Regions from separate parts of the Homo sapiens genome. Here region 1 is linked to region 2. The links are contacts of gene promoters, found by promoter capture Hi-C in human tissues and cell types (Jung and others, 2019). All regions are on one chromosome and are shown on one strand. The core of a region is centred on a gene start or on the middle of the fragment in contact, and the rest is flanking DNA. Distances in the headings are between cores, read along the strand shown.

Region 1 (5,357 bases), core at 665-3,164, 64 kb before region 2:
GAAAAATAATAGTCCGGGTGCGGTGGCTCGTGCCTGTAATCCTAGCACTTTGGGAGGCTGAGGCGGGTGGATTACCTGAGGTCAGGAGTTTGAGACCAGCCTGGCCAACATGGCGAAACCCCGTCTCTACTAAAAATACAAAAATTAACTGGGCATGGTGGCAGGTGCCTGTAATCCCAGCTACTTGGGAGGCTGAGACAGGAGAATCACTTGAACCCAGGCAGTGGAGGTTGCAGTGAGCCGAGATGCTGCCACTGCAGTCCAGCCTGGGCAAAAGAGCAAGACTCGTCTCAAAAAAAAAAAAAAGAAAAAGAAAAAGAAATGTGGGTTGTTTTAAGCTACTAAATTTGTGGCAGTTTGTTACAGCAACAACAGGAAAATAACAGATTCCCAAGAAACTGGTAACAATATTGTCTCTGGGGAGGGGGAATAGTTACTTAGTTGAGGGATGGAGTAGGATGATAGAGAGTAAAAAGAGCCTACTGTTTGAATTTTGAACCACTTGAATGTATTATTTTTAGCATAAATAAAATGCTTTGAATATTTGGGGCTTCCTTTTTTTTTTTTTAGACGAAATCTCACTCTGTCGCCCAGGCTGGAGTGCAGTGGTGCCATCTCAGCTCACTGCAACCTCCACCTGCTGGGTTCAAGCAATTCTCCTGCCTCAGCCTCCCGAGTAGCTGGGACTGCAGGCATGCACCACCATGCCCTGATAATTTTTGTATTTTTATTAGAGACAGGGTCTCACCACGTTAGCCAGGCGGGTTTCAAACTCCTGGCCTCAAGTGATACTTCTGCCTCAGTCTCCCAATGTGCTGGGATTACAGGGGTGAGCTACCGTGCCCAGCCTAAGAAGTCTTATAAGACTTTTTTTCCCTTAGTTCCACCTCCTCCCCCATGAAATTTTAATACCACAGATATACTCTATCTCATTTTATGAAATGTATATCTGTGTTTTATATATAAAAAGAATATGTGTGTTTTTATGGCCCCAAGAATCAGCTTTTAACCCCTTGGGGGCCATACTCCCTCTGCCCCTGCCACACACACACACTGAGTATGCACAATTGGGGTAAAAAAAAATCACATTATTTTATGTCTGAAGTACAGATATACATTCAGTACCTAAAGAGATATACAAAATATTTGTGGATTAAGATTTCATGGTGGGAGGTGATTAAGAAAAAAAAAAAAGCCTAAAAAACCTCCTTAGGAGAGTAATAAATTTTAAAAGATTATAGAAGGTTGAGAAACTGTGATCTAAACAGGTGGTTTGGAATTGCCCAGTGGGGCCCACATAGAATCGGAAGTGTGGCAAATGTCACAGCAGGGATGGGTAGTGTCTTAGAGGGGCACTAGTGGGAAACAGGGACCTTGTCTCCCACTGGCCCTGAACATAGCGGGTAACCCAGAACCACACTGTCACTAAAGCCGACACCTCAAAGTGGCTCACTGATATGCTTATTTGAACCACTAAACTTTTTTTTAAGAATCTGGAAATTTCACATAAAATATGGACTTATGGCTCTCTTGAAAAATTCGAAGACCTAATGACACTGGAGCCACATTTCTGCATATTAACAATTAACATAGCCGGGTATGGCAGCCCACACCTGTAATCCCAGCACTTTCAGAGGCTGAGGCAGAGGGATCGCCTGAGGCCAGGAGTTTGAGACCAGCCTGGCCAACATGGTGAGGCCCTATGTCTAAAAAATATTTTAAAAATTAGCAGGGTGTGGTGGTGCATGCCTGTGGTCCCAGCTACTAGGGAGACAGAGGTGAGAGGATCACTTGAGTCCAGGAGTTGGAGGTTATAGTAAGCCATCACACCATTGCACTCCAGCCTGGGTGACAGAGCAAGACTGAGGAAGAGAGAGAGAGAGATAAGAAAGAAAGAGGCATATTTAACTTATTTACCTTCCCTCTCTGGCCCCAGCACTGGAGCAGAGCAGAAGGAAGGAACTATGGGATAGAATGCAATTTCTTTCCTATCCTTATATCTATTTATCAAGGAGACTTCAACAAACAACAATAAAAACTTTATTGAACACTTGACTGTGCACCCGGTACTGTACTAAGAACTGAGTTTCGTTGTCTAGTCTAACTGTCCCCAGATCTCTCTGGAGTGTACATAATCATCTTCATTTTCCTGATCAGCAACCCCAGACTCAGAAAGGTAAAGTAACTCGCCCAAGGTCACACAGCAGTGGCACACTTTAGTTATTATTTCTGTATAAAAACTACACCAAACTTAGTGACATGAAACAACCATTCCATTGTCCTCAAGTTTACTATGAGTTGGGGATTCAGAAGGGACATAGCGGGGATGGCTTCTCTGTGCTCTGCAGTGTCTGGGACCTCACATGAGAAGACTTGAAGGCTAGAGATGAGTCAACAGCAAGAATCTAAAAATCACTCACAAATCTGGCACCTGAAAAAAGATGACTCTAACACTAAACTCAGCTGGGACTGCCAACTGACCAGATCACCTACACACGGCCTCCCCATCTGGCCACAGCCTCTCCATGTGCTTGGGCTTCCTCACAACATGGAAGCCTCAGGGCACTTCTTACATGATGGCTTAAACTCCAGCAAGAATGTTCCAGCAAACAAAAGGGAACAGCACTGCCTTTTCTGACCTAGCCTTGGAAGTCCCATAGTTAACTTCTGCCACATTCCACTGGTTACAAGCAAGTCACCCAGATTCAAAAGAAGGGGACATAGACCCCAACTCTAGACGGAAGGAGGCTCCATTGCAGAAGAGCACATGGAATGGAAGATATTGTTGCAGCCATCCTGCAAAATATGATCTGCCACATGGCAGAACCAGGACACAAACTCAGGCAGATGGCTCCGGAGACACTGTTGTTAACCACTAACTACGTTCTACAGGTGGTTATGAGAATTAAGTGAGATAATACATGCAAAGTGCTCAGGACAGGGAATGGCACATCATATCGAATTCAATACATATTGCTTTCCTGACTTCATGCACTCTCTTTGCCTCTACACCCGTGCATAACCTCACCTATGAAGTGCCTGGCTACGTGCATCTGGAAACCTGGCATCCAGTGAGCTAACTCAGGAGAAAGACTGAACTCAGCCTACCCCCCACCATAGCTCTGGGTGAGAATTTCTCTGAGGACTCCGTGGAGGAGGCCTTGTCTCGCCCACTCTGTGGCTTGGCCATGTCTCTAAAACCCAGGCAGGGCCAGAGAGCTGTGCCCCAGCCCCAGCAGATGACCCAGGGGACTGAAGTTCAGAGTTGAAGAGTTCAGACCCTGCACAGTTCATGAATGTTCCTGGGCCCCAAAGAGTAACTGGAGAAATTGTTTGTATCAGTGAGGAATGACTTAACTCTTGGCAAATCCTAGAAAACAGCCTTTCTTCCTGTTTCTAGAGGCCTTCCAAAGAAAAGAAACAGTTTAGATTTTGCTCAGCTCTGTGGTTGACTACGGACTCCCACCCCATGGGGGACCCATGGGTGAGGTCCCAGCTCCCAGGAGCAGGGGAGGGAGCATTCTGGGAGTGCAAACCAAACTATTTGGTTCTCTGGCCAATGGGGCCTCTAAGTTGGCTTCAGAGACCACTGAGGGATGGGAGTGTCATCAACACAGATCCCAGAATCTCTCCTCTAAGCTTTACCTTCCATTCAAGCCGGGCTGGGATCCTCACTACCCCAATTCGCCTCACCCCATTCCCTCCCACCGCCTGCCCTTTGCGAGTGTTGAGCCGCCCTCCTGGAACACCTTCCTTCCCATGGCCAAGCAAACTCATCTGCATTTTCAATACCCAGGTGGAGCTCTACCTCAACCATGAGAAATCTTCCCCGAAAACCATGGCTCAACAACAGTTTTATTTCTCTCCCTGAACTTGCAACGCAATTTACTTCTTCATTCATGAATGCAATAGGTCATTTTTAGGGAAGGCGTTCTCAAGGCCTTTGGCCTCATTACCTGCTTGACGCTCTTAAAAATTATAGAAGACCTCAAAGAGTTTTTGTTTATGTGGCTTTTGTCTGTTGCTTTTTACCATAATAGGAATTTACCCTGAGAAATTTTAAAACTATTTATTCATTCATTCACGTGAAAAGAACAAGAACAAACCCATTACATGTTAATATCAGGAGGATGACATCACCACATGTCATGAAGCCTCTGGAAAACCCCACTGCGCACTTGTGAGAGATGAGAGTTTGAAAAGGCAAATCACATCTTTTGTTATATCAAAACAAAAATAGCTTTGATCTCATGGATTCCCTGAAGGGCCCCACAGATTATTTTGAGAATTACTGTCTAAGGCTATTTAGAGGCACCAGGTTTTCTCTGTCTCTCTCTCATCTCTATCTCTTTCTCTCCCTTTTTTGATAACTTACTATCTCTGTCTCTATCTCAATCTTTGTCTGTCTCCACGTAAGCCTTCTTCTCTTTCATCCATCACTGACTTTTTGGTATAACTTTAGTATTTACTTTACTGGTACTTGTTAACATTTTAAAAAATTAAATAGATAAGGATAGGAAAGGAAAAGAAATTAGGAGGTCAAGGCAGGAGGTCTTGAGCCCAGGAGTTCAAGACCAGTCTGGGCAACACAGTAAGACCCTGTCTCTACAAAACAGAAAACAAAAATTTGGCGAGGCAAGGCGGTGGCGTGTGCCTGTAGTGCCAGCTACTCCGGAGGCTGAGGTGGGAGCATCGCTTGAGCCTGGTAGGTCGAGGTTGCAGTGAGCCACGATTGTACCACTGCACTCCAGCCTAGGCCAAAGATTGAAACCCCATCTCTAAAAAACACAAAGAAAAAAAGAGAGAAAAGGAAAGGAAAAATCAGCGTGCAAAGCACAGACTCTTAGTAAAGACTGTGCATATCACCATAAATATTTTTGTTATACATTGTTCCAGATACAGAGAAGGATGTAGATATAGGTGTAGATATAAATATGAATGTGAATGTGGGTATGTATTTGTTATTATAGGCTGTGGTCAGAAGATTTTGAAAACAGTATAATAGAAGACCTTTTATGGAGATTTCTCAGGATAAGACAATGTTTAGCAAAATGTGGGGCATTCTCTCCTAGTGGTATGGGAAACAATGTTTTGGTTGCATACTGCATATGCATATGATATTAAACAACAATAGTATATTAACATCAACATTAAATAACATTAATAATCCCTGTTCAGTTGTCTTTTAGCTACTCTGATTACAACGAGGAGGAAGTCTCACTTGGTGAATAGGGTCTCTTTAACATTCTCTAATATTTGCTAATCTCCCTTGGTAATCGGGACAGACAAAGCCTGAAGTTCAGAGCTCTCAGCAGTCAGCAACGTCTCAGTGGGCTCCAAAACACTGTTTTGGATTC
Region 2 (4,932 bases), core at 1,293-3,792:
ATCTCATGAAATTTATCAAATATTTTGCTGAAAGTGAAAAATAGAATGGTTGTATGGGTATCTCAATTGTGGTTTCTACTGAATACACATCACTTTCACATCGTCATAAAGTCAAAAAAATCATTAAGTGAAACCATCATAAATTGGGGACCATATGTATACATTTAACTATATATAGGGGATCATATGTATATATGTAACTATATATGTATAGGTATGTATATATATTCTTACTGCATACAATTCACTTGATATTTCCTATTCCAGTCTATTCCTTTAGGAAAAAAAAATTAAGGTTCACAGGCCAAGACAAATTAAACACCTCTGAAGGTCATTAAGATGCTCAATTTATAATGACTTGGAGCACTTAGCAAAGATACTATGGGAAGTGAAGCTGTGTGTACAGTAATAATATTTGTTGAGCAATTGCTAGTGCCAGCTGCAGTCATAGTAGAAAGTGTTTTATGAGCATGAGCTCCATGAATTTTCACAATAATAGTATAAGATGAGTACTGTTATTTTCACTTTAGTGATGAGAAAATCAAGGCCAAGTACATATGTACATTCTGCCTCTAGAAGACAGAAGCAGAGCCATCTCCAAGCCTACTGCGGCAGGCCCAGAGAAGAGAACAACCATGTTTACTGAATACATTTGCTTCTGTCTGAAGTTTGGGGAGTAGAAAGCGGAGTAAGCTATGACCAGAGGTGGGTCTGGGAATGGTGAGGCCTGATACATGTATAATTTGCAGCCCCTATTCAAGAAAAAGAGTACAAAATTATGAGTCCAAGATTAGATAAGAAAATGATTATTTCTTTAAATTAAGAAAAGAAATCACAACAAATTCAAATTTTAAGAAGCTGAAAATTACCACAAACATCACAAAATTCCCAACTCAACTTTCCTCCAAAATGCCAGCAGCCACCTGACACCACCCTACTCAAGGGCAAGTTGGGGGTGGGGAATCGGAGTGGAAAGACAGCGGTGTCTACGGCCTGCAGCCAAATGTCCAAAGCAAAGGACTTTTGTAAACTTTACATCAACAAGCCACCATCTGAACACTTTTCTAAGTCCCCTTAGAAAGGGGTCCAAGCAAGTCAGGGGCCCAAGAACTTAACCTTCATCAGCTCCTGTAAACTTACAACTGGAATTGAAGACTGTTACGGCTCAAGAGCAACGGCTTTGGAGTCAGCCAGGCCTGAATTTCATTCCTGGCTCAGCCACTTTCTGCCTTCTTTGAGCTTGGACCTGCTCATTTGTGAAATGAGTGTGCTGACAGCAGCTACCTTGGGGTCTCTCTTGGGGATTACATGAGATAAGGAAGAGTTGGGCATTGGATGAGCTTAAGGTTGCAAATAAAAATATAGGACCCCCGGTTACATTGGAATTTCGGAGACAAAAGAAATACTTTTTAAATATAAGTACGTACAACCAATCGCATAAGACATATACTGCAACTGATTCCTCGTTTCTCTGAAATTCAAATTCACCTGGGTGCCCTGTCTTTTACTGCACTTAAGAAATGACAGTGGTTGATATTGCTTTTGGATTGAAGCATCCTGGGTGTCCCACGGTGGAATTCATAGACATTAGAGAGTGGGTGACGGGCTAGGAAAGGCTGCATAGACTCCAATTAACACAGTTCATTGCCAGGGAGACTAAAAGGGGGGTGGCTATGAGAGGATGGAGTAAGTGGGGTGCCTTGATTTGGGCATGTAGGTGGAGGGGGCTATACCTCTCACTTTCACTAAACCAGTTAAGCTCTTGAGACCTCAGTTTCCTTAGCTGTAAAATGGGTGAAACATAGGGGAGACCCCTGAACCGTTCTCACCTAAATACCACACCAATGGCACTTCCTCATAATTCAGATGTCACCTCCTCAGAGAGGTCTTCCCTGACTGCTCTAGCTAAAATTACCGCCTCTCCTCCACTCCCCAACAGCAGATACATATATTATTTTTCTCCCTGTAACTCTAACTTTCTGAAACTGTCTTGCTTCTTTACTTGGTTATTTGTTTATGGTTTGCCTCTCCATGTGAATGCAAGTTCCGGGAGGGCAGAAAACTAGTCTGTCTTGTTCTAGCTGAGTCTCTCAGGAGTGGTACCTGGCACAGTAGATGCTCAATATATTTTGAATGAATGAATGGGTGGTTGAGTGAACGAATGTTAGTGTCACTATTGAGGTCCTCTCCGAGCCGTCGTTCCTTTCACAGGGGTCATGCCTGGGTTGCAGGGAGGATGTGCTGCCCCGGGGAGGGAGGAGGTGCGGGGTGTCGGTGGGTGGGGAGGAGGCTGGGCCCTGGCCTCCAGGACCGGCGAGAGTGAGCGCGCTCTGCTCGGCTGCAGGCTCAGGAAGCGGCGCGGCGGCACGTGCTGGGCCAGAGCCCCGCGCCCTGCGTCCAGCCGCCGGGTGTGTGCGCCCGCGTAGCCCAGCGTCGCGCCTCGGCGCCCCCACGCGCCCACGCAGCGGCGCGGGGACCCGGGCGGGGGCAGAGGGAGGGCCCGGCCCAGGGAGGAGAAGGGGCCGGTCCTCCCGGCGCAGGCAGCAGCCGCGGCAGCCCAGGAGGCGGAGGCAGCGGCAACGGCAGAGACAGCAACGTGCCCGCCGCAGTCAGCCCGGCCTCGTCGGACCCGCACCGGCCCGCCCGCCCGCCCGCACCGCGTCGGGGCGCCCTCTCCACTGCGCGCGGTGAGTACCGCCAGCGGCGCCCACCCCAGGCCGCCCGCCGGGATTCGCCGGGCGGGGGGAGTTGTTCACCGGGACCCCCTCGCCCTGCGCCTCTTTCTGGCACTCGCCAAGCGGGGCCTCCGCAGCTGTCGGGACGTTCTGGGGCGCACGGGCCTCCCAGGGCCAGGAAGGCACAAGGGCAGAGGGGACAGCAGCAGAGCCCCCCTCTGGAAAGGCTCTCCCAGGCTCGGGGCCCCAGTTTCCCCATGCGCTTTGGGGCAACGACCCTGAAGTTTGCTCTCCCGCGCGCGGGACAAGTGCATGGCGCGCAGGCGGTGTAGACGCGGCTGGGTCCTTGGCGTTTTGTTCGATTATGGTCCCGGCGGTTCGCGATAAGGGGCGCTCCCCCAGTCCGCAAACTCAAGCCCTCAGGTAGTGTTTATGGGATAACCAAGAAGCAGAGCCAACCGCTGGAATCCCGGCTTGGGGCTGGAACGGCCCGCTGAGACTTTGCCTTCTAGCTATTGATATATTTCTTTTCAAAAGTCCGTTTGCGCTCGGCCCGCTCTGGTTCAGGTCTGGGGCTTTGAACCGGGGCAGGGAATCCTGGCGCCTGCTGCGGGTAGAGTTGAAACTTAGAAAAGTTTACATCCGAAGGGTGTTTAGAAGGCGGCAAGGATTTCGTTGTAATGGGAGAAAGTGGGAAATGGAATTGTTTTTTAGTCATGAAGTCTGGAGGTTAAACGGCCGTGCTGGCCCAGGCTCCTTCAATATATTCCTGCCTGCCTCCCCCCCAGCAATAAATAGTTTATAAGCTCAAGGAATACTAGGAAAGCGTGACTGGTGAACGTACTCCTATCGCAAAAGACTCAGTGCGCTTTTCTCAGCTGTTGAACTGGAAGCGCCTTTTGCAGTGCGAGGTTCCTGCTTCCCCGAAGCCGAGGCTGAGAGTTGACAGCGTGCACCCTGCCGCGGTCTGAATTCTTTTTAAAAAGCAAGACCGATGCTGCGTTTTTATGGATACCCTTTTCTTTTCTTTCCCCTTCCCCGAAATGCTATGTAATCTTCAATTACTTTTTAAAATATAACGTGGAGGTATAAATCACCCCGGTAAGAGGTACCTTTTAATTACGAGGTGCAGTGGAAGAGCTGAACATTGGAATCTAGCTGTTAGCGAGGGCGGAGGGGCAGGAGGATGATTTACAAACATCATGTAAGAATTTGAGCACTGAATTATGTTTGAGTTAGGGAGATCCCTTACAAAGGAAATTATAACCAGTGGACAATTGTATTTCAAACCGAATCTATTAATTTCATGAGCCGTTTCTTGATTGAGTGAAATGTCTGTGACCATAATAGATACAGAACTAGTAAGCACCTTACCAGACTATGACCCATTTGTTAGCAACTAACATACACATGTAACCATCCTGCTTACAAAAAAAAAAAGAGGTACACAAAGAAAGAGTGGGAGGAGAGAACCTCTTTTTCAAAATAATCTTTGTGAAAGAATCTTTCACAATTTTACTCGATAAATAAATGTTCATTTTTTCCACTTGTCTTTCTTCATCACCTTAAGCCCCTTCATCCTTTACATATCTTTGCATTTAGACACTCTCACACTTGGGTAAGTTCTTCTATAATTTATATAACAAATAACAAATGATAGTGGTTTGAATCTTGCTTTTGACTAAGCATTAAATTGTGTTTGTATTAAAAAAAATCTCCTTGCCTTCGTAGCAAACTCTTAACTTTTGCCATTGTGAAAAGACCAATGTGGTTAGATGCAAAAGAGCCTGAACTTTTTTTTACTTTAAAGCAGTTTATATGTCCCCATTCTCTTGTAACTTCAGCTTCACAATATCATTCACTATTTTATCTGAAAGGAATTGGCATTTTTCTTTTCTGTCTTAAAATAGCTCACCTGGTGTTGTGACCATGTGTATGAGAATACTCTATAAACACACAAATCACTTCCCCAATATCAGAAAAACTAAAGGAAATATAAAATAAAATAAAAAGATGTGTATCTCAATACTTTAGGATTTTTTTAAAAAGTTTTCATCACGTAAGTTTTAGAATCTTCTTTTCATGTCTTTTGTTTTGCATTAAACACATCATAAAGAGGTATGATTTGTTGACTTGTTATAGGATTACCATTTGGCAAAAACGCCCAAGACACGCTGTTTCAAATATGTGGTATTACTTCTGCTTTAAATTGCGTGTAAGAGATTGCAAACCTTGTTCCAGATGGATAAATTGATAA

What was found. The method cuts DNA at HindIII sites, captures the fragments that hold promoters and counts their contacts. A contact is called where the count stands out against the background at its distance.
Region 1: a contact is called between a fragment that was not itself captured here and the fragment with the promoter of EYA2 in region 2, in 6 of the 25 tissues and cell types used here (IMR-90 fibroblasts, lymphoblastoid cells, neural progenitor cells and 3 more).

Annotation. Positions count from the first base shown.
Region 1 is chr20:46,829,423-46,834,779 of GRCh38, forward strand. No RefSeq gene overlaps it. Among named protein-coding and RNA genes, the nearest start is that of EYA2, 63 kb to the right of the region's middle. The HindIII fragment of the contact is 8,791 bases long and covers 1-5,357 here.
Region 2 is chr20:46,892,301-46,897,232 of GRCh38, forward strand. It overlaps EYA2 (EYA transcriptional coactivator and phosphatase 2), which reads left to right and starts at 2,543. Exons shown (of 16, transcript NM_005244.5): 1 at 2,543-2,687. The HindIII fragment of the contact is 22,949 bases long and covers 1-4,932 here.